Linked DNA regions of Homo sapiens: all the other regions are linked to region 4. The links are contacts of gene promoters, found by promoter capture Hi-C in blood cells and fetal thymus (Javierre and others, 2016). All regions are on one chromosome and are shown on one strand. Each heading gives the region's core, a stretch centred on a gene start or on the middle of the fragment in contact. The rest is flanking DNA. Distances are from core to core; before and after follow the strand shown. Region 1 holds the start of HDDC3 (HD domain containing 3). Region 2 overlaps PRC1 (protein regulator of cytokinesis 1). Region 3 has its middle 4.3 kb from the start of MCTP2. Region 4 holds the start of CHASERR (CHD2 adjacent suppressive regulatory RNA). Region 5 overlaps MCTP2 (multiple C2 and transmembrane domain containing 2). Region 6 overlaps MCTP2 (multiple C2 and transmembrane domain containing 2).

What was found. Contacts are between HindIII fragments. The CHiCAGO score rates a contact against its expected background, and 5 or more counts as called.
Region 1: a contact is called between the fragment with the promoter of HDDC3 here and the fragment with the promoter of CHASERR in region 4, in 1 of 17 cell types (erythroblasts). The highest score is 9.2, in erythroblasts.
Region 2: a fragment that was not itself captured here is called in contact with the fragment with the promoter of CHASERR in region 4 in 1 of 17 cell types (fetal thymus); the score reaches 8.6 in fetal thymus.
Region 3: a fragment that was not itself captured here is called in contact with the fragment with the promoter of CHASERR in region 4 in 1 of 17 cell types (erythroblasts); the score reaches 5.6 in erythroblasts.
Region 5: a fragment that was not itself captured here is called in contact with the fragment with the promoter of CHASERR in region 4 in 1 of 17 cell types (erythroblasts); the score reaches 5.9 in erythroblasts.
Region 6: a contact is called between a fragment that was not itself captured here and the fragment with the promoter of CHASERR in region 4, in 1 of 17 cell types (M0 macrophages). The highest score is 6.2, in M0 macrophages.

What each region holds. Positions count from the first base shown.
Region 1 is chr15:90,930,195-90,933,809 of GRCh38, forward strand. HDDC3 (HD domain containing 3) reads right to left here and starts at 2,355. Exons shown (of 4, transcript NM_001286451.2): 1 at 2,235-2,355; 2 at 1,861-1,916; 3 at 1,510-1,750; 4 at 1-1,211. The coding sequence starts at 2,346. The coding sequence ends at 1,081. It also overlaps a transcript of UNC45A not described here. RefSeq lists enhancers at 1,523-1,752, 2,503-2,552. The HindIII fragment of the contact is 1,585 bases long and covers 2,128-3,615 here.
Region 2 is chr15:90,989,282-90,993,011 of GRCh38, forward strand. The region is part of intron 1 of PRC1 (protein regulator of cytokinesis 1); the gene reads right to left. Among named protein-coding and RNA genes, the nearest start is that of PRC1, 3.4 kb to the right of the region's middle. The HindIII fragment of the contact is 7,498 bases long and covers 1-3,730 here.
Region 3 is chr15:94,225,604-94,228,820 of GRCh38, forward strand. No RefSeq gene overlaps it. Among named protein-coding and RNA genes, the nearest start is that of MCTP2, 4.3 kb to the right of the region's middle. The HindIII fragment of the contact is 5,783 bases long and covers 1-3,217 here.
Region 4 is chr15:92,881,593-92,885,308 of GRCh38, forward strand. CHASERR (CHD2 adjacent suppressive regulatory RNA) reads left to right here and starts at 1,251. Exons shown (of 6, transcript NR_037601.1): 1 at 1,251-1,594; 2 at 1,993-2,186. RefSeq lists enhancers at 578-667, 1,093-1,734 and silencers at 978-1,107, 1,728-1,977. The HindIII fragment of the contact is 7,161 bases long and covers 1-3,716 here.
Region 5 is chr15:94,256,407-94,260,063 of GRCh38, forward strand. The region is part of intron 1 of MCTP2 (multiple C2 and transmembrane domain containing 2); the gene reads left to right. Among named protein-coding and RNA genes, the nearest start is that of MCTP2, 27 kb to the left of the region's middle. The HindIII fragment of the contact is 3,628 bases long and covers 1-3,317 here.
Region 6 is chr15:94,294,608-94,298,212 of GRCh38, forward strand. It overlaps MCTP2 (multiple C2 and transmembrane domain containing 2), which reads left to right. Exons shown (of 23, transcript NM_001385001.1): 2 at 3,594-3,605. Among named protein-coding and RNA genes, the nearest start is that of MCTP2, 65 kb to the left of the region's middle. The HindIII fragment of the contact is 2,604 bases long and covers 181-2,784 here.

The DNA of each region.
Region 1 (3,615 bases), core at 1,105-3,604, 2.0 Mb before region 4:
TAACCCGCAATGCGGAAGGGCGAGGGGATTGCGAGTCACCGAGTTTCCCGCGCGGCTTGAGGTACTGGGGAACCGGAATCCCCCACCGGCCCAATCATGTTGCTGCTGGGGTCTCTCCGGTGCCCAGCAGTGGTTGTCAGTAAGCGGGCGGCACTCCCTTCCGATACGTCTTTTCTTTTTTCATTTTTGAGACGGAGTCTCGCTGTGTCACCCAAGCTGGAGTGCAGTGGCGCGATCTCGGCTCAGTACAAACTCCGCCTCCCGGGTTCAAGCGAGTCTCCTGCCTCAGCCTCCTGAGTAGCTGGGATTACAGGCGCGAGCCACTGCGCCCGGCTAATTTTTTTTTGTATTTTTAGTAGAGACGGGGCCTCGCCATGCTGGCCAGGCTGGTCTTGAACTCCTGACCTCAAGTGATCCGCCCGCCTCGGTCTCCCAGAGTGCTGGGATTACAGGCGAGAGACACCGCGCCTGGCCCCCTTCCAACTTTCTTAACGGGAAAGGCTGCTACCATTTCTTGAGCACCTATGTGTCAGGCTCCATCAGGCACGTCACAGTCTAACCTGATAATTACACAACCCATGTCACTGACAAGGAAGCCAGGTTCGGAGGGGTTGAGGCCCGCAACCTGAGGGAGGTGACTCCGGGACACACAATTAGTCCTGCTTTGCTGAAGGAAAGATATGCAGCCCACCAGTCGGAGGCTGGAGAAGGAGCAGCAGCAGCTTAAACCTTAACCCAGAGTTATTTTTATTTTCCAGAACGTGTTAGGAACTAGTACTTAAATAATCTCAAGTCCCTGAGGGGCCAGAGATCCCACCATGCAAAATAGCAAACAGACCCAAGACTTGGGGAGAGGCGGTGAGTGCATCAGAAATGGATGGGTACATCTGATTCCCACCACGCGGGGCTCAGCTTAGTTAGCAGGAGACCTTCAGACTGAGAAAAAATGCAAGTCTTTTTTTGGCCTCTAATATCTGGGAAGGATGGAGGGAGCTCAGGAGACACAGAAAAGATGGCGTATGAATCCTGTCCGGCCTGAACGAGGCTGGAGTTGTGCCTCTGGATAGCTTCAAGCACTGATCAGATTGTCAGCCCCCGCTGCTTGAACAGATGCTTTAGAGCCTCTTCCAGTTGCCGGTTTGTTCCCTGAAGCCCCTTCACCACCTGCGCTGCCCACTCGAAGTATTCCTGGACTCGATGTTCTGACCATCCTGCATAAGAGTCGACAGAAACTTGCTAGCGTGATGTCAAGGAAAGCACTGCCTTTTCCCCACTTCCTGGCAAGCTTGGTTCAAGGCCATGAGTTCCTGATGGAATGAGCTGTCCTGAAAACTTCCCCTTGGCCCAGCTATTGTATTTTTACTGTATGAAAGAAGATCAAAGAGTGGTCCAGTAGGATTAATTTGGGAATTAAGAATGCCCAGGGTTTTTCAGGGGAACTGACCAACATGTGTCTTCAGAAGGCGGCATCCCCCTCCCTTTTCCCTTACAGCCCATACGAAAGCGTACCCTCTGGGGTGCAGCGATTCAGGTCCCTCAGATTGTACAGCTTGTCTGCCAGCTTCACCAGTTTGGCCCCGGGGCTACTGTGGGGCGCTTGCTCCACCTGCAGCCTCTTTCTCTCCAGCTTGGGCAGAGTCTTGTCATCTGTTACCTCCTCCACCAGGCGCCGCACTTGTGCCCCAAAGTGTAGCTCCACCTCATCCAGGGTGGTGTCTGTGTCCTCCACCGTGTCATGGAGCAGGGCCGCCTGGGGACAAGTTCCCACTCAGCCCTGAGATGTCAGCCAAGGGTTGCCCATTGCTGAATGGGGCCCCTAATCCCCATCCCAGGCTCCTGGCAGAGAAGGGGGAAAGTTACCTGTAACACCACAATGTCAGTGATTCCCGCCTCGTGGGTCAGGATCCGTGCCACACCTGACGGGGAGGGGCAAAGCAGGAAGTCAGGTCGGAGGTAGTCCCAAGGCGGTGTGTTGTGGGTTTTGGAGAGCCAGATGTGGCCCCTTGTGGACTCTGACTAGCTGGGTGACCTTGGTCAAGTACCTTACCCTCTGGGAGCCAACCGACAAAGGGAACGATCATGCCTACCGTTCCAATTGTTATGAGGCTTAAACGGTATATCGCACTAAGCTTGGGACAAAACAGGTGCTCAATGAGGTGCACGCCCCCCACGTTTCCTTCCCAGTCCCCACCACCCAGGTGCCGCAGCCGGCGCTCCGCGGCCGACGCGCCCACCGATGGGGTGGTTGATGTAGGGGGTCCCCTCGGGGTCCTTCCGCCGCTGCTGCCGGTGCTTGCGAGCCGCGAAGTCGGCAGCCTCCAGCAGCTGCGCCGCCTCAGAGCCCATCGCGCGGATGGGGCCGACGACTGCGGCCGCAGGGGCAGGGACGGAACGTTTACAGCGCCCCCTGGCGCCGGGGAGGCCCGGGGATCGTGGAGGCTAATTCAGCGGGCCGAGTTGGGCCTGCCCCAGATGAATTCCTCTGGAGCTGACCGGCCCGCGCAGAGAGCAAGTGATGTGGACAGCTGCCTTCAGCATCGCAGCCCCCAGCTCAGTGTGCTCTGTTGGGGGTGCAAGAAGAACATAAGCCTGGCTCTTTGGGAGCCCACAGTCTGTGGAAAAGAGGAAGACAGACAAGAAATAAGGCAGTGGCCTCACAGTGCTCTGAATCCAGGGTGGCCAAGGCTCAGGGGACTATGGGAGCGGGAAGAAAGAACAATCCCCACACCCTCAGAGTCAGAGACAGCTTCTCCCAGAAGCTCCCCCCAAGAACCATCTTCAACCTGTAAAAGCTCTGAAAATTCTCCAAGTGTTCTAAAAATAGTTCTCCCTGTAGGGATGGGCCAGGTTCTGTGGGCAGGGGAGTCTACCTTTGGACCCTCCAGGAGACCCTAGGGCCTGACCTGAAAAATCAGAGCCTTCCCTGGGAGCCCTGCCTAATTGCTTCAGACTTAGGCTCCCAGGTAGCTGTGACGTTTCTGCAGGAACTGCCTTTGTTTGTCCTCAGTGTTGCAGATGAAATTTGCCTTGTCTTCTTATGCTATGAGAGCTCCTATTTCAGTCTCTAGGCATCTTCTGTGGGCCCCTGGGGTGATGAGTGTTGTCACTGCTGTCCTGGGAGCATGATGTTGTCAGGCCTGGGTAGGCACTGGAATAACACTTAATTCTGCTGGCTGGTGGCCTTCTGGAGAAATTCCCTGCCTTAGGGGCAGCTGAGGGGTAAGAGAGACCTGGTGATCCCCATAGAACTTCTCTGTGAGAGGGGGTTCCCTATTAGCTAAGTATACTCTAATCAGACATGTAGCTTTTGTGTTCTGGCTGGTAGCTGGGGCAGATAAGGCTCAGGGGAAAGGCTAATGAAAGGAGTCACCCTTGGTTTTCAGCTAGTCTTGGTGGTTGCCACGTAGCAGAGGTTAGGGAGGGAAGCCCCACATGCTGGAACTGAGGTCTCTGGGACCTGAAATAGGAGGGTCAGAATTCCCAGAGCTTCCATGGCAGCCTGGAAGTTGGAGAATGGGTAGAAACATATTTGGCTGTAAATGCTTGTTTGTTCTTCATACTAATGGCTCAGCTGCTCTCTCATCCCTCATTCTGTCCTCTAGTCCTTTGAGCCTT
Region 2 (3,730 bases), core at 697-3,196, 1.9 Mb before region 4:
CTGTCACCTGGGCTGGAGTGCAGTGGTGTGATCATAGCTCAACGCAGCCTCAACGCCCTGGGCTCAAGCAATTCTCCTACCTTAGTCTCCCAAGTAGCTGGGACCATAGACGTGCCATCGTGCTTGGCTAATTTTTTTTTTTTTTTTTTTTTTTAAGGTTTGCCATGTTGCTCAGGCTGGTCTTGAACTCCTGGGCCCAAGCAATCCTCCCACCTCGGCCTCCCAAAGTGTTGGGATAACAGACATGAGCCACTGCACCCGGCCCCTCAGTTTAACAGAGTTCATACAACTCAGCAATTTTATTACTGGGTATTTGCCCAAAAGAAATGAAAACACATTTATACAAAAACTACACAACTGTTTATAGCAGCATTACTTATAATAGCCAAAAAGTGAAAAAAAAAATACAAATGGCCATCAACTTATGAATGGGTAAATAAAATGTAGTATATAGGCATACAATGGAATATTATTTGGCAATAAACCTTGAAAACATTATGTTAAGTCAAAGAAGCAAGTCACAAAAGACCAGAGCTACGGTTCCGTTTTTATGAAATATCCAGAATAGGTAAAAAGTAGATTTGGGGTTTGTATGGTTTTTTGAGACAGGGTCTCCCTCTTTCACCTAGGCTGGAGTGCAGTAACATGATCATGGCTCACTGCAGCCCCAACTTCCTAGGCTCAGGTGATCCTCCCACCTGAGCCTCCGGAGTAGCTGGGACTACAGATGTGAGCCACCACACCCAGCTAACTTAAACAATAAAATTTTTTTTTAGGCCGGGTGCGGTGGATCACTCCTGTAATCCCAGCACTTTGGGTGCCAAGACCGGCGGATCACGAGGTCAGGAGTTTGAGACCAGCCTGGCCAATATGGTGAAACCCCGTCTCTACTAAAAATACAAAAATTAGCTGGGTGTGGTGGTGGGCACCTGTAATCTCAGCTACTCGGGAGGCTGAGGCAGGAGAATTGCTTGAATCCGGGAGGTGGAGGTTGCAGTGACCTGAGATCACGTCACTGCACTCCAGCCTGGGTGACAGAGTGAGACTCCATCTCAAAAAATAAAATAAAATAAAATAAAAAATAAAATAAATAAATAAATAAATAAATAATTTTTTTTTTTTTTTTAAGAGGTAGAGTCTCTCTATGTTGCCCAAGCTGTTCTTGAACTCCTGGGCTCAAGTAGTCCTCCCACCTTGGGCTCCCAAAGTGCTGGAATTATAGGTGTGCGCCACCTTGCCTAGCCGAAAAGTAGATTTGTAGTTGCGGCTGGGGAGAATTTGGACCATGGGGTGAAAGGGGATTGACTGCTAATGGGATTTTAAAGGGGTGATAAAAATGTTCTAAAATTGATTGCAGTGATGATTGCACAACTCTGAATATTCTAAAAATCACTGAATTATAATATACAATTTAAGTACATTGTATGGTATGTGGATTATACCTCAAAGCTGTTATTAAAAACATCTTGGCACATAATCTAAAACATTTTTGGTTTCTTTTTTTTTTCTTTTTTTGAGACAGAGTCTCAGTCTGGCACCCAGGCCGGAGTGCAATGGTGTGATCTCAGCTCACTGCAACCTCTGCCTTCTGGGATCAAGCGATTCTCCTGCCTCAGCCTCCTGAGTAGCTGGGACTACAGGCACACGGCACCACGCCCGGCTAATTTTTGTATTTTTAGTAGAGACGGGGTTTCACCATGTTGGTCAGGCTGGTCTCAAACTCCTGACCTCGTGATCCGACCGCCTCGGCCTCCCAAAGTGCTGGGATTACAGGCGTGAGCCACTGTGCCCGGCCCATAATCTGAAATGTTTTTGATTTGTGACTTAATTGAAAAACTTACAGATTTTTACTATGGCCGGGCGCGGTGGCTCGTGTGCAATCCCAGCACTTTGGGAGGCCAAGGCGGGCGGATCACCTGAGATCAGGAGCTCGAGACCAGCCTGGCCAACATGGTGAAACCCCATCTCTACTAGAAATACAAAAATTAGCTGGGCGTGGTAGTGGGTGCCTGTAATCCCAGATACTCAGGAGGCTGAGGCAGGAGAATCACTTGAACCCGGTGAACCCAGGAGGCGGAGGTTGCAGTGAGCTGAGATCATGCCATTGCACTCCAGCCTGGGCAACAGAGCAAGACTGTCTCCAAAAAAAAAAAGAAATAAAAATTTTACTAATATATAACGTATTTTATTTGGCCTGTTGGAAATGGGTGTTTGGAATTACCAAACACCCATTATTATTATTCTAGTTAGAGACACTTCCTGTAAGAGGATCATTTTCAAATTAAAAACTAACATTTCTCACTCTTCCTAACATTCAAATTGTACTGAACTTAATTTTTTTTTTAAACTTAAATCTTGTATCATCCTTGACACTTCTTTCTTATATGCCCGCCATTAGCATTATCTACACAAGACAGGCAGAATCTCACTCCTCCTGACCTCTGCTGCTACCACTACCACCCCCACCCTGGTCCAGGTCACCACCACCAACTTCTTGCTGTATGGCAGGGGCCTCTTAACTGGTCTCCCGGCTTCGAAGCTGGCCTCCTTAAGTCCATTGTCAACACAGGAGCCCCAAGTCCTAATCTTCTACTCAGAACCCTCCAACGACTTGCCATCTCACTCTAAGGAAAAGCCTCTGACTTTCCAAAGACCTATGGAGCCCCATTCCATCTGAAAGCCATTTCTTTTGACCTCAGTGCTCATTCTATTCCTGTCACAGCGACCTCCTTGCTCTTTCTGGAACATACCAGGCGCTATCTCCCCTTAGGGCACTTGGATTTGCTGATTCCTCTACCTAGATCTCTTTTCCCCCATGCTGCATGGCTTCACCCTTTTCCTTCTTAGGTCTTTGCTCAGAGATCACCTTCTCAGGGAGGCCTTTCCTGACCCATCTCTTTAAAACCACAACCCCCCTTCCTACACCTTCAGTACTTCTTAACCTCTTGATTTCTCTACATAGCACTTACCACCATTTAAGACTAACTTATTTATTACACTCCTCTTTTGCTATTAGAATATAAACTCTGTGAGGGCAGGGATGTCACTTTTGCTCACTGCTATATCCCCAACACTTGCAATGGTTCCTTGTATATAACAAACATTCAAGAAGTATTTTTCTTTTCTTTTTTAGTATAAATTATTATTTTTTAAATAGAGACAGGGTCTTGCTATGTTGCCCAGGCTGGTCTTGAACTCCTGGGCTCAAGTCATCCTCCCACCTTGGCCTCCCAAAGTGCTGGGATTACAGGTGTGAGCCACTGTGCCAGGCCCAAGAAGTCTTTTTGAATGAATAACGTGACATTTCAAAAAAGTTGTATGATCTTAAGATGCTTCAGAGCAATCATTATGAACAATTATCATGATACACTTAAATACTCCCTGGCTAAATTGTTTCAGATAATCCCCTAAAAGCAGCAAGTCTGAGTTTTTTTTTTAGATTCACTGAAAAAAATCAAGAGTGCATACAAAGACTACCACTCAAGGACAAAAAGGTTGTAAAATGAGTCAGTTTTTCCAGTCTTGAACATAAATCACTGGACTGGAAGGTATCTCACAGTGGTCCTTAAATTATTTTCTACCTTCAGGCAGCCTTCACTGATCCACTGCCCTATTTTTTCTTAGCATTCCAGAGAAGGAGCTTTGTTGATCTCCAGTTCAACCTGTTTCGGGGATCGATAACCATAATTAATTCTGGCCAGAGTTTCGTTTGAGCCTCAGAGGTCAAAGC
Region 3 (3,217 bases), core at 84-2,583, 1.3 Mb after region 4:
TATTTCAGTGATGTACTAAAATACGAATAATATGTTCAGGTGCAACAATATGATGTTGGGATTTGGTTGGTTCTCAAGAGAAGTGATTGGTTTTCATTGCTGGAGAAGATAGTCTTTCAGAAACGAGGCATTACAGACACAAAACTTAACAGAGACCCAGAATAGTTTAATCTGCTGTATGAACACATAGCCAGGATTCTGTTCATAGTTTTGTGGATTCCTTGAGCATATTTTGCCAATGAATGTGTATGAAAGCAGTACACATAGTTTGAAATATAAAGCCAGGGTTTTCAGATGAGAGGTGCTGGAATAGAACTACATTTTGCAAAGTAATGAAGTAGGGCTCACTTTCACCAAAAACCATCAGGGATAAGGAGGCAGGTCACAGCCCACACTGAAGGTGGATGCAAAGGTCACTGTAGAAAGTTCTAAACTACAACTGAGAAGATGTCTGATATTAACAAATGAAGCTACTCCTTTCCCTTTAAAATATCTAAAATATATTTTTGTGCTGACTGAATTAGGTTTTCCTTATTCTTCTCCATTTTAAAGTCAGCTGAATAGAAGTTCAACCTAATCAAAGTTTACTTTTTAAAAGAACAAGCCCTTTAGAGAATGTGTAATTTTTCATTATAGTTGGGTATTTCTCAGTAGGAAAAATGAAAAACTTTAGCACATACTGGAAATTAAGAAATTAAGAAATTAACTTAGTCTTAAGGTCAGATTACTTACTGTCTTATTTTCTACTTTGGATTTTTTCAGGAAGTGGCAACAATTGTCACTACAAAGACGTGCCTAAAAAAAAATCAGTAAAGCAGGCAGGTGCCTACCAGGTTGGTTTGCAAATGTCCTTATGCACTTAATAAGACCTTGTCTATTTCCTGACTACTTTTCAATCCATTAATTAGTGATGTTGTACTTTCTTTGTAGGTTATCATTAGAGGCAGTAATGGGAGACTGGATGAATGAAAACTTATGCAAATTATACATCCCAACCAGTCACAAAGACAGACTGGAGACGTCAAGTCCAAAATTTGTTAATGTCCTCAGCCATAGACATAGTTATTATTTCTCCACATTTGTCTATATTTTGATTTTCTGATTAAGATTATGGAAATACTGCTAGATGGCTGGCTTCATTTATTGAACTGATCTTTGTCTGCCAGTTGAGTCTGTACTTATCTCAATTGTGTAAGCCAGGTTTCACCCATGAAGACTCCCTTTTTTCATCACTTGGGACTGACTGGGGTCCCGGTTTCTGCTGATTCTCTGGTGTATTTTCTACCTGGTTTTTTACACCACTTGCTGGGCTCTGCAGGTGCTACTATCAAGGCCTCTTCACTCTGACACTCTATTGTGTTTATCTGTTTACACATCTAGCGAAAATGTGAGCCATTGGAGGGCAGAAGCTATCATATTTGTGTTATATCCACAGAGTTTATCACAGAGCTTAATATATGGATCAGGGGATTCAAACTGGTTGCCAGGCTTTCGGCCACCTGTATTTTTTAGCCAGCACAGGGTTAACAATAAGTAAATTTGAATGTCTTTAGGTGGGCCTACTCTCTGCTATTTGCCACAGTCTCTATCTTCTTATATGTGACCACAGTCAATCTCTATTTCACCAGTCTCACCCATGTAGGCACCCTAGTTTGTGGTCCTGGTTGTAGATGATGAATACATGCTAATTATGTGAATGAATACATCAATGAATGTACTTCTTATTTTGCATGGAGAATTGATTGTTATCTAAATATTCTTGTCCTGAAAATTCCCCTAGTTTCATCTCTCATTTTGGAAAATACAGGTAGAAAAACAGATAACTGTAATGTGCAATGCACAAATAAGCATTTCTGAATACTTGCCAGAGGTGAGCCACTCTGTGCATTCTAGTGGCTCAATTAGAGAGGAAAACAAATTCAACTGTGTTATTTGCAGAACCCATAAGATGCAAACAAACCATTTGTTGTGGAAAAGCTCAAGATTTTTGTATCTGAGATGAGTGATAACTTCTACCTTGGATCATCTTAAAACAGGCAGTGTAATTTTAAAAAACAATGACCCCGACCAACATGCCAAATGTATGTTCAACAACGTATTTCCCAAGGTAGATTCTTAAGATACCCCCCACTATTGCCAATGACAACACACTAGAGAACAATTCAATAAATGTGATTTGGGGCCACAGAAATTCTCTACAGTATGAACCTCTCCCCTGGCCTAGGGGAAGTTTTAAGCAATTAACTGAATGAAATTCAGATCGTCAGACAAAAATGTTGGTACTGAGATAGTAATCTTGGGCAAAGTTAACCTTCATCTGAAGAAGTAAATTTGGTTCTTCTTTACCCATCTAATGAATGGCAGACTCAGTCTCTTAAGAGTTAACTCCAAGCCTCTAATAATTTTAACTTTTCAGAAGCAACCACTACCAGATGTTCATTTTGGCCATAAAAGTTCCCACCCAATAAAGGTACAACATCCATAAAAGTCGATCTTTGAACAACTTACTACCTGTGAACATTTCCAGCTAATCAGCTTGTGTTAAATACATGTTTAGGTATTTGAAAGAAAAGAACTTGATACATAGAATCATCATTAGGACAATTCAATGCTGATGTTGATTTCCAAAGAGATTTTATAAGAAGTCTTTCTGAATAATTAGAGAATAGGACTCATTTTCTGTTAGGTCCATTCTTTTGTTCAAGAAAGTGAAGCCTACAGGATAAACTCGTAACTAGTAAGTGGCAGAGCTAGGTCTGGAGTGAGTCACTAAATTTGGTCTCTCCACACCTGCCTATAAAAAGGGGATAACATGATAATTATACCAAAGGAAAAAAAATCCTGAGTACATATAATAACAAAGACTATTTGCACTAACAATAAAAGAAGTACCATTTCTCAACGCCACGTAACAGAGTGCATATTCTTCCTTAAAGCACACACTAAAATAAACATTTGTTACTTGGACAATAGACTGAAGTTTGCTTTAACCATTATATTCGTTTTAACCCCTGGTAGATCTAAATTGACATGTTTATGTCTCAGTCATTTTTCTACTTCTGCTCTTATCGGCCCAGAAATGATGAGAAGCACCAACGAAGGAAAATGTGAGGGAAGCTAGGTGCCAAGCCCTTACATTACTGCTAGCAGATCTCAGACAGCTTTCTCTTTGACATAAAGGGACTTGTCCCAGCAAGATTAGCTCTGTGTCCTCCAA
Region 4 (3,716 bases), core at 1-2,500:
AGAGAGCTACCTCTTTTTTTTTTCCCCATCCATTTCAGGAAAGTTTAGGTTTTCATTTTTTTCCTATGGTCTTCTTAGAGTTGTTTCCACGTTAAAGTAGGAAGAAGTAACGAAAAAAAAGTGAGATTTGCCGAAAGCAAATGAAACTTGTTTTGCCTGGTTCTCTGGAAGGAGGTTGAAAAGGTAGACTATGATTTTTCAGGTTCAAACTGCTACTCTAACAAACATTGTCCTACAGGGTGGAATCCAGTCAACCGGTATTGAGATTGATTCGCTAAGGCCTCAGGACACTGGACATTCTTTTTAATTGTTTTTTTTGATTTCCATGACGACAGCTCACAAGACACTAGACATTCTTTTAGGCTCTCAGGTAAATGCGCAACAGGCAGTCTACAAATCCACAAATAAATCGCATCTCAACTCGGATACTGGGGCTAGGGAATGTGCTGATGGTAAAACCATTGGTCCTGACTGTGTGACCTTCATGGAAGGCCTGGGTGCTTAGAACAAATATTTTGAGGATATGGCTGCTTGCCCAAGGGCTGTGGGCCTGTATCTTGTTTGCTCATCATCCTGTCAGTCATTTTTTTCTTTCCCTTTTTTTAAAGACAAAATCTGAACCTAGAAACACCGAAGCCAGAGCTTTTTCTAGACGCGAATCCACTATTTGTGCGACCCTGCACTAACCATTCTAGCCTGGCCTAGACCATACCAGGAACCCTCCAGCTAGCCTGGAGGGGTCCGCACTGCGGGGAAAAAAGCAACAGCTCAGCTCCAACCCCAAAGGTTCCATCACCAGCCAATCGTGGCCCGGGGCTTCTCAAGAAAACCAGAAACGCCTACGGACAGTGAATGGCACTAAGGCCAGCCTATCCGCACGAAGGAGGCGGAAGGGGTGGTGTTGAAATTAACCAATAGAATGGAAGAAGTTGTTGTTGGGAGGGAGGAAGACGCCAGCTAACGTGCGTGAGGCCGCTCCCGGATAGGGGATGCAGGAAGCTCGTGGAGCCAATGGCCGCGGCGGGCGGGCGGCGGCGCGCGTGCGCGTTGGCCCCCGGGCCTGCGGGCGGGAGGCGGGGATGGTGGGGGAGGGGAGCGGGCTGGAGCGCGGCGGAGCTCCTGCCGCCGCCGCAGCCGCTGCCGCCGCAGCGAAGAGGCCATGTTGTGTGGTGTGTGGGGCGGGGGGAGGAGGAGGAGGGAGTAAAGCCTAGAGAGGAGACGGGAGAGAGACACCACACACACGGCACAAGATGGCCGGAGAGGCAGCAGCACCCCGAGCTGTCAGGCGTTCCGCCGCGGCCGCGAGGCCCGCCGGCCGGCGGGGAGCTACGCCCGGACGGCCAGCAGGCCCGCGGGAGTGGGGCTGCCGCGGCTGAGGCGAGGCGGGCCGCGCGCGTCGGCGTCACAGCCCGCGGCAGAGGCGCCCAGGGCGGCCGGGCCCACGACGCCGAAAGCGCCGCTGCGGTTGCCGCCTCGGAGGCTCCCCCGGGCCCCGGCGGCTGGACCCGGCGCGGGCGGGAGGCTCGGGCGGGCGGTCCGGCCCGGGACTCGGGTTTGGGCGACCAGGAGGTGCCGGTGGCCGCGCTCGGACCCGGTGAGTGGCTCCCTAGCTCCTTTTATTGTCCTTTGTCCTTGGGAGGAAAAGCAAAATGTCCTTGAGCGCGCGAGCAGGAGGGGGCGGCGGGCCGGGCCTCGCCGCTCGGCTCTTCTCGCACTGCCCCTCCGTGGTCGGGGGCCGGCTCTCGCCGGCGGGATGCGCCTCGGTGCCCTGGGCCCGAGTCGTAGGGTCCTGGGGTAGGGGGCACGCGGGGCCCCGCTGCAGAGCCCGCGGGCGGCAGGTGGGCGGGGGGCAGCCTCGTCGCCGGGACTGGATCCGCCGGGAAAGGGGCGGCGGGTGAATGCCGGCGAGAGCCCGAAGGGGATCGGGCGTGGAGAGCCCCTTTCTGTCCTGGTGAGTTATTTTGATATTTAGGGTAAAAAAATCCCTTTCAGGTTCTCCAACGGAGGAGCTTTTTAACCTCTTTCCGGTGAGGTGGGAACTCATCTTCATGATCGAATTTAAAAGAACAATGGAACCCTGACTACGTTTCAACAAAAATAAAACTTGTTTTTTTCCCTCCTATTGGGTGTTGGCTTTTAACTCTTTCAAAGCCGATTTTGAAACGGCTGCAGTGATACATGCGAAGGTACTTGCTGCTTATTAAACCTTTATGACGTTAAGGTTGTCTTTGAAAAATGCAAGTTGGAGGAGTGCTTCTGGTATTTCAGAATTACGAAGACAAGTTTACTGTGTCGTCAAGGCTGTTTAATGGAAATAGATTTGATAATTACGGTGCTAGCTAGCTGATGACGTTTGGTTAATGTAGTTTATTTTACCGAGTAATGACGCCAAGATCATTTGATCTCCTGATATTTAAATATGATTAAATACACTGTTTGGTACTTTTTAAAAAGGTCTCAAGGAGCCGTTATCTGCAACTTCTCACACCTGAATGTTAGAACGTACTTGGGTCAATTCCTAGTCTTTAAAAGTTCATAATTTAATTATTTTTAAGAATTTATATTATCACAAGCCATGATCGAAAAACTTTCACAAAAGAACATTCTGACACCAAATCTCTTCCTGAAGTTACTTTCTCGTAATGTAAATATGAATAAAGTAGGACTGCTCTCGGTAATGGGCGATGAAGAGGAGCCATATTTGTTGCATTTGTTGCATGTATAAAAATCTAGATATGCTTAAAACGGAACAGTATTTTAAAAGTACAGGTTTCATAAAATTTAGTAGAGTTCTCTGTATAGTCTCTAATCTTAGAAAAATGTTGGAAGGGTAATTTTTAAGTGTAGTGGTTTGAAGAACAAACCAGAAGCGCACAAACCTTTGTGTATTTTAGAATATATTTGTCTTCATTCTGCGGAGCTCTTGTGTTGTAAAGGTGCAGAACTACGTAAAAATAGTGTTGGGCAGACTTACATAGTACATCTGAAATCAGATACTGGTTTATTCGACCATATTTCTAAGGGCATTTTTCCAGTAAAATTGTTTTATTTTTTGAGTAGCCTTCCTATAGTGGTACATGTTACATCAGTTGCGCATATCTTGATTTTACAGAATCTGTCTTAAGTACCAATTTTGGTTTTTCAAATCAATGTTTCTGAAATTTTTGAACACTGAAAGTGGTTTTAAATGAATATTCTGAATCTAGTTCTTTAGAATCCTCTTTGAATTGTGAAATGCAAAATAATTGTTAGCAGTTTAACCTGAAAGATCTTTTTACATGATAAATGGGGGAGGAGAAAGACTGAAATGAAAATGTTGAAGACCCTGATTTGAAATTGAGTGTAAAGGTCTAGATACTGTAAGTTTTAGAGTAGCTTTAGAGACAAAGCTAGTATCCCACTTGGTGAGATCAAGTAACTTGTGGTTTAAAATTTAAAGTAACCAGTGGCCATTTTAACTTCACTAATTTCTCTTGGAGGAGCTAATTTTTAATTGCTCATGATTGTAAAACATACTTCCGGATGGTAAGGGAGATGTTAAGATGATTTGTCTTGAAGAATGGTAAACTTTTTCTTTGTTTATTGCCTGTCATAAAAAGAGGGAAAGTAAAAAAAAAAAGGTTCATAATCTTAAATCAGTCCAAAAATTTGAATTTTCTGTATTTCTGTTTAATTCAATGCGTTAATCTTTAGCATTGGTCAATACAGCCAAAAGA
Region 5 (3,657 bases), core at 254-2,753, 1.4 Mb after region 4:
AATATACCACCCTCCTCCCCATGTCTGTTGGATGAATAACAACTTTTATTGATGATATACTAAACTTTGTCCTTAAGCTGTTCTCCTACAAAATATGGGACTCCTTTCAGATAGCCAGTCTCAGTACATAGCTGCAAAACTTTGCATGATGTTGTTTAAATTGAGAGGCTATTTTGATGTCATGAGTGAGTATCAGGAAGGCAGACCATCACAAGAATTGGGTCTTTTCTGTGAGCAAGAGACTTAGAGAAGTAAGGGACCTTTCTGAAAAGAAGCACAACTTGCCCATGTTCCTCTTTCCTGAGTGGACCCAACAGGCAGTGGTTAATGTGAGATACGGTGTATAGTTTTGTATTTCCAGCAATGCTGAAATCTGAATAACCAGGAAGCTAAAAATGAAGAAACAAATCATAAATCAAAGAACCTTTGATACTTCTCCTTCCTTCCACTGGTCTTCTTCCTTGGACTCGTCCTGCGTGGAACATATTCCACACAGCAGACACTATGATCCTTTGAAAATCCATGACAAATCAAATCAATCAATCCTCTGACCAACCTTCACCTCCTCTCCTCCCTGACTTCCCAATTCACTTAAAATAAAACCTCAAGTCTTTGCTGGCCCTCATCCCTTCTCTGACATCATCTTATTCTGTCACTGATAGATCAGGCAGATCTGGCTCTGTTGACCTCTTTGCTGTTAGAAGCAAGGAACATGTTCTGGCTTTGGGGCTTTGCATGGATCCATTCCTATTTTTGGAATCCTCTTTCTCAAATAGTGTTTCTCATTCTTGTCACTTAAGTCTCTGCTCACATGCTCCCTCATCCTCTGTGGGATGGCTTCATCCCTCTTCAAACATATATATCCTCATGGGAACACTAGCTTCCCAAAGGCAGGACCCTTGTCTGATTTGACCACTGAGTTGATGAATTTGTAAGAAGCCAAGTCAGGCTTTGAAAGCAGATTCCTAGCATCCATTGAAAGGAGGAATTTTGAGGGTAGATGCTAGATTAGACAAAATTCAACCTTATCTCCCATATATTTTGCGTGTGGTAACAGTGGTGTATGTTCCCTACAATGCCCTGGTAGCATTACAAAGAAAAATTGTTTGGGCTTTTTCAGAACTATCACATTTTAAAAATATTTGTTGTCATTTTCTTTGTTGTTTTTTTTTTTTTTTTTTTTTTTTTTTTTTTTTTTGAGACGGAGTCTTGCTCTGTCACCCAGGCTGGAGTGCAGCGGCATGATCTCGGCCCAATGCAGTCTCTGCCTCCTAGGTTCGAGCGATTCTCCTGCCTCAGCTTCCTGAGTAGCTGGGATTACAGGTGTGTGCCACCATGCCCAGCTAATTTTTGTATTTTTAGTAGAGACGGGGTTTTACCATGTTGGCCAGGCTGGTCTTGAACTCTTAACCTTGTGATCTGCCCTCCTCGGCCTCCCAAAGTGTCAGGATTACAGGCGTGAGCCACCGTGCCTGGCCCATTTTCTTTTTTAAGATGGAATCATGCTCTGCCGCCCAGGCTGGGGTGCAGTGGTGCGATCTTCTCAGGGCTCACTGCAACCTCCATCTCCTGAGTTCAAGCAATTCTCTTGTGTCAGCCTCCTGAGTACAGCACCTGCCACCATGTCATTTTTTTTTTTTTTTTTTTTTAGTAGAGATGAGGTTTTACCATGTAGGCCAGGCTGGTCTCGAACCCCTGACCTCAAGTAACCTGCCTGTCTCGTCCTCCCAAAGTGCTGGGATTACAGGTGTGAGCCACTGTGCCTGGCCACATATTGAACATTTATGTGCTCAAATCCCAGGAGGGTTTCTAATTCCTTGGTTACTTAATAATGTCACAACTAAATGAATGCTTCAGTTATCCAGATTTCTCTAAGCCCAGGTTATGGTAAACAGATTTATTTCTATATTGTGAGTTTGAATTTCTTTTCTAATTATGAGTGACTCCTCTCTCAAAGGACATGCAAATCTTTTTATCCTGCCTCTGCCCCATCACCTGGGTCCACAAAAAAGCATCTGTGTCTACTTCTGAAAATGCAAATTATTTGAATGTGCCAGAGTAAGTAAAAAGGAAGTGGTGCATGCATGGTGTAGTTTGTAAATGTAAGAGTGACTTGAGACAGATGAGATCCTTTATTGAAATTAATAGTTAATGAATTTTCCCAAGAGAAACACCATTTAGTAGAGGTGACAATGGTAGTTACCGAAAACCCTATTTAAATCACGCTTGCCTTAAAAAACTAAAAACCAAAAAACCAAAAAAATCTTGTCTATTTCATCTTGTCTGGTTTGCATTATGTTCATTACCTGATTCTTCTTTCTAAAAGGAGAGATACAGTTCTGAAAATAGTTATTGCCTAAAGGGAGAAAACAAATTCTTTTCCTGGTATTGCAGTTTTGTTATTTGTTTTCCAACAGGTTAAAGGATTTAATTATTCAGATGCTCTAGAACTGTTCTCTGCATATTCTTTTGATCATACGCCCTATCAAGCAGGTACTTTTTGAGCAGACACACCCAATATATAAGTTTACATATTTACTTATAAATTATGTACATGTACTATGGTGCTGATAATATATATACATTATTCAGCATACACTAAAATAGAGATTAAAAGAACACATTAAGTCAGTGTGAATGGAAGTTCCAATATTTTCTTCCTACACTCTGTGGCTATGCTGGACTCTCCCTGGGCCATGCTCACTCAGTTCACTCTGGGGACCCCCTTCACCCCACCCAGCCTAGTCCAGGTCATGGGATTGCAGGACCTGAATAAAAACACACCATTAGTACTCATACTCTGCCTAGGGAGGCTAAGGGAAGAAAAGTTTGCTAAAGGTCCTGAATAAAGCTCATCGAACTCCAAATTCTTCACCTTTAAAGAGAACATGCTACAGTGCACAGCCTGGCACCTGGGGCAGAGTGGTGATCAGGAAGGGGAAATTGATGTTCTCCTCCTATTTCTGCTGCTGTTCTGTTACTGCAGCTGTTAACTGCTAGTTCATAAATCTTTTATCTAAAAATTCACAATTCAGAAACTTTTGCAAATGGAAAGGATTTTGTTTGTAAGAATCCTTACCAGGGTTTGGTAGCAAACTCTGACTTGGACTCTTGTGTAACTATTTCTGTTCTATGTAGTAGTTATATATCCCATTAAGTTTGAATTGTGATATGTTTGATGATGAAATACTGTCTCCAAACCATTTAGGGTATTGTGTAATATATGATACACTCTCTAAATTCTTAAATTTCTGAACTCCAAAAACAAACCTGGCCCAAGGTTGGTTTAACCTCTGTGATGATTATTTCTACTTTGAAGCTTGTTGCCCTTTTGTTCAGGTTATTGCTGTATGATCATTTGGTGAAGGATACTGCTTTTTGATGGACATGATCGCTTGTAAAGGCTTCCCCAGGTCTCTACTGTAGGGAAGAGTGCGCCTGTCCTGATTCAGTCATTTGTAAACTATTGTTATTGTTTGGACAGGAATAGCAGATGGCTTAGTCTCACCCTTGTGCACTGAATGCCCTCCACATCACCATGTAATTGTCCTTTCCAGATCATACATTGGGTAAGGAACCTTCTGATCTCTGCCCTGTTCTTAATCTCCTTCAACCACTTTCTCTTCCCCTTTGGCTGTTCACCAGTGAGGTCATTTG
Region 6 (3,605 bases), core at 233-2,732, 1.4 Mb after region 4:
GATGCAACTTTGTTTACAGCAACTCCTTTTCTCATTTTCTTGGAGATGTTTTTGGTTTGCTTAGATACACAGATTACAAACCTCTTCATTTCATAAGAGGCTGATTCCCATTCCCAGTCTCCCTTCCAAATAGGAGATTTCCCTCAAAGGGGAATGTAAGCCTCTCCCCTAGGATTCCTAAGCTTTGATCTGCACAGTAACACCAGGGAGATTGGTTGGAAGGCAGATTCTTGGGACTCACGTTCATCTCCTGTGGTGGAGCCCAGGACTGTCTACTTTTATTTATATTTATTTATTTTGAAACTTTTTTCTCTTTATTTTTCTTTTCTTTTCCTTTTTTTTTTTTTTTTTTTTTTTTTTTTGAGACAGTCTTACTCCATCACCCAGGCTGGAGTGCAGTGGCGCAATCTCAGCTCACTGCAACCTCCGCCTCCTCGGTTCAAGCAATTCTTGTGCCTCAGCCTCTCAGTTCCTGGCATTACAGGTATGAACCACCATACCTGGCTAATTATTTATATTTTTAGTAGAGATGGGATTCTGCCATGTTGGCCAGGCTGGTCTCGAACTCCTGACCTCAAGCCATCCACCCGCCTTGGCCTCCCAAAGTGCTGGGATTACAGGTATGAGCCACCACACCTGGCCGGGACTGGGTATTTTTAAAGACACAATCTTGATGAGTCTCTTTGGGGTGCTGTAGGGAACCTCTTTGAGAAATTCTATAGAGCCAGGAATTTAAACTTGTAATATATCTGTCTGTCTGTCTCCATCTCGATAGCTCTCATTACTTGTGTTGAAACACATATGGCTCCACCTAACTGTTTTAAGCATTGTACAGTATCCCACTGTGTGAGCGCATCTGAAGCTGCTCCCACAGAAACCACAGTGCTGCTTCTCTGGGCTATGTTCAGGTATACTTTATTTCACACATGTGCTGAGTCTTCAGCAGCAGCCGCTGCATGACATATGGGTCATTCCCAAACTTCAATCTCATTATTTTTGCTGAGAAGGTACTGGCCACCTTCTCCATTTTTATGTTTTCCATATATATTACTTTCTTTACAACGGACTTTTCAGTTATTTAAATATTTTTTCTTTCAGCTTTAGATTTTTAGTTCATCAAAATGTTTCTTCTGTCAAAAATTCTATCTGTACAAAAAAATAGCTGGGCATGGTGGCGTGTGTCTGTAGTCCCAGCTATTTGGGAGGCTGAACTGGGAGGGTCGCTTGAGCCCAGGAGTTCGAGGCCGCAGTGAGCTGTGATCGTGCCATTGCACTCCAGCCTGGGCAACTGGAGTGAGACCCTGACTCAAAAAAAAAAAAAATTCTGTCTGGTTGTAATTAGTGTGGAATTTGTATAAATTCTTTTTCTCAGATGTCTCAATTGCATTGTTTTAATTTCCACATACATGATACATTTTTTCAAGACTCTGCTCTGTGTCCTGAGTTTCTCATAGTACCTGTCACATTGTGGGTCCTCTGGTTGTATTAGCTGGTTTGACACTTCCCATTTCTTACAGATTCCTCCCAGGTCTCCATAGAGTGCTACCCTACTCTCCTTCATTAAATGCTAATTGAAGGAAAATATTGCTATATGAAAATAGAAGCAATGCCTTTTATCGTATTTGCAAGTCAAGTTATGAGATGTGAATTGAATGTACTTGCGTATTGCTAACGTGAAATTCAAGTTTCTGTTTAGGATAACGTTTTTAAAAGCTGCAAAAAAAGTTGTAAACTATTTTAAACATTTAAAGCCAAAATGACCCAATACAAAGTAATTGAAACAATTTTAAAAGTCGCTAACATTGTATTAAACATTTACTCCATACCTAGCACTGTTCTAGATACCAAAGCACTTTCTGTGTATTAGTCCATTCAGTCCTCACCGCAGCCTCCCGAGGTACTTACTGTTAAACTCATCTGTAACATGGGAATAACAGTGAGACACAGAACTCTTACATAACTTGATTAAGATATCCAAACAAGAAATGATGAGAATAATGATAGAGACACCTTTCTGTGTCTGAGCACTTTAAAGCATCAGACACTGTGCTTTCTACTTTGTGTCATCGTATCTGTAAACTAGGTAATCTCGTCCCCACTGGGTGGGTGAGGCAATGGAGGCTTAGTGAAGTGACTTGCACCTGGTCCTACCTCTAAGTAGAACAGAGTAAATCAGAATTGTAACCCATGGAGTCTGTTTTGAGAGGCCAAGCTCTTAATCTTTACATTGTCTGCAGAAGATACCAAGTTCATCCTGGGAGAAGCTCTTGTCATGCGCTGGTCATTAGGCAAGGGCTATAGAGACAAAGTCCTGACTTTTAGCAGGCAAATGGCTGCACACACCCTGATCTCTGGCTCTCTGGACCATTCTTCACAATGATAAACTGTCCTCTCCTTGAAGGAGCTGGGGTGGGGCACAACAGCCAGGGTCCTTGATTTTAGAAAATGTGATTTGTGGAAGCTCTTGGCCTCTTTTGGCCTCAGCCAAATGTGGCAAAATACAAACAGGCCAGGTCTCAGTGTCTGCCCATCCTGTTCTTTTTCATACTGAAAGGATTTATTATGAGGCATGTGACACATAAAATAAGGGTTATTTCTGCAAATTTGATTTTGATTTGATCCGTGATGAGTTCAACCTGTTATATCCCAAATCACCACTTTCCTCCACAGCATTTACCCTACTCTGTAATTACGTATTTACTGTATGTGTGAAGCATCCTTATCCCTCATAACCAACTGCTAGTGAGCCACACTTTCATTCACATTCTCAGGCTACATCTCAGAAGCTTGCTTTGTTTAAGGGCTTCATTATGGGAATTTTGTCATTTCTTCTGAATAAGAACAAAACTCACATTTTTATAAATGTGTTTTGCTCTAATCACCTGTATGTGAATATAAATTTGAAAGATACTAGATGGAATCCTAGTCGATAGGGCCATGTTTTTGTTCTTGAAAACGTACACTTAATTCTGGGAAGGAAGTTGACATGGTTAAAGCAGGGATCAGCAAGCCACAGTCTGCTGGGTTTGCAAAGTTTTATTACAACACAGCCACATTCTTTCATTTAGGTATTCTGTCTGTCTCCTTTGATGTCGCACAGCAGAGTTGAGTAGTAGCGACAGACACCATCTGGCCCACCAAGTCTAAAATATTTAATAACTGGCCCTGCACTGAGACTGTTTGTTGACCTCCGGTTTAGAGAAGTAGAAAGTCCCCACCCCTTGATCATACTGAAGAACAGCTGCTGTTGGTGTTCTCGTGAATGTCTTTAGCTCCGCTTCCTCTGGGAAGGAAATAAGACAGTTATCTCTTCATGAAGCATTTTTTTTTTTTGGTGCCAACCTTATCATCTCATTCTTCGTTTTAATGTTTCTACAGTTGCTCTGATAAAATTCTTTTAAAAAGTTCTTTAAAAATGCTTTCCCCAATATTTATACAAGTTACCAATCAAATGTTGCAGTCTTAATCATTTATTGGAAACTGTAAGATTTTTGAGTCGTGTTTCTCACTTTGATGTGCCTTACTGCCACCAAGAAGGTTCATGTTTTTTTTTTTTGTTTGTTTGTTTTTTGTTGTTTTTTTCTGTTTTATAGGAGTCATTGCAG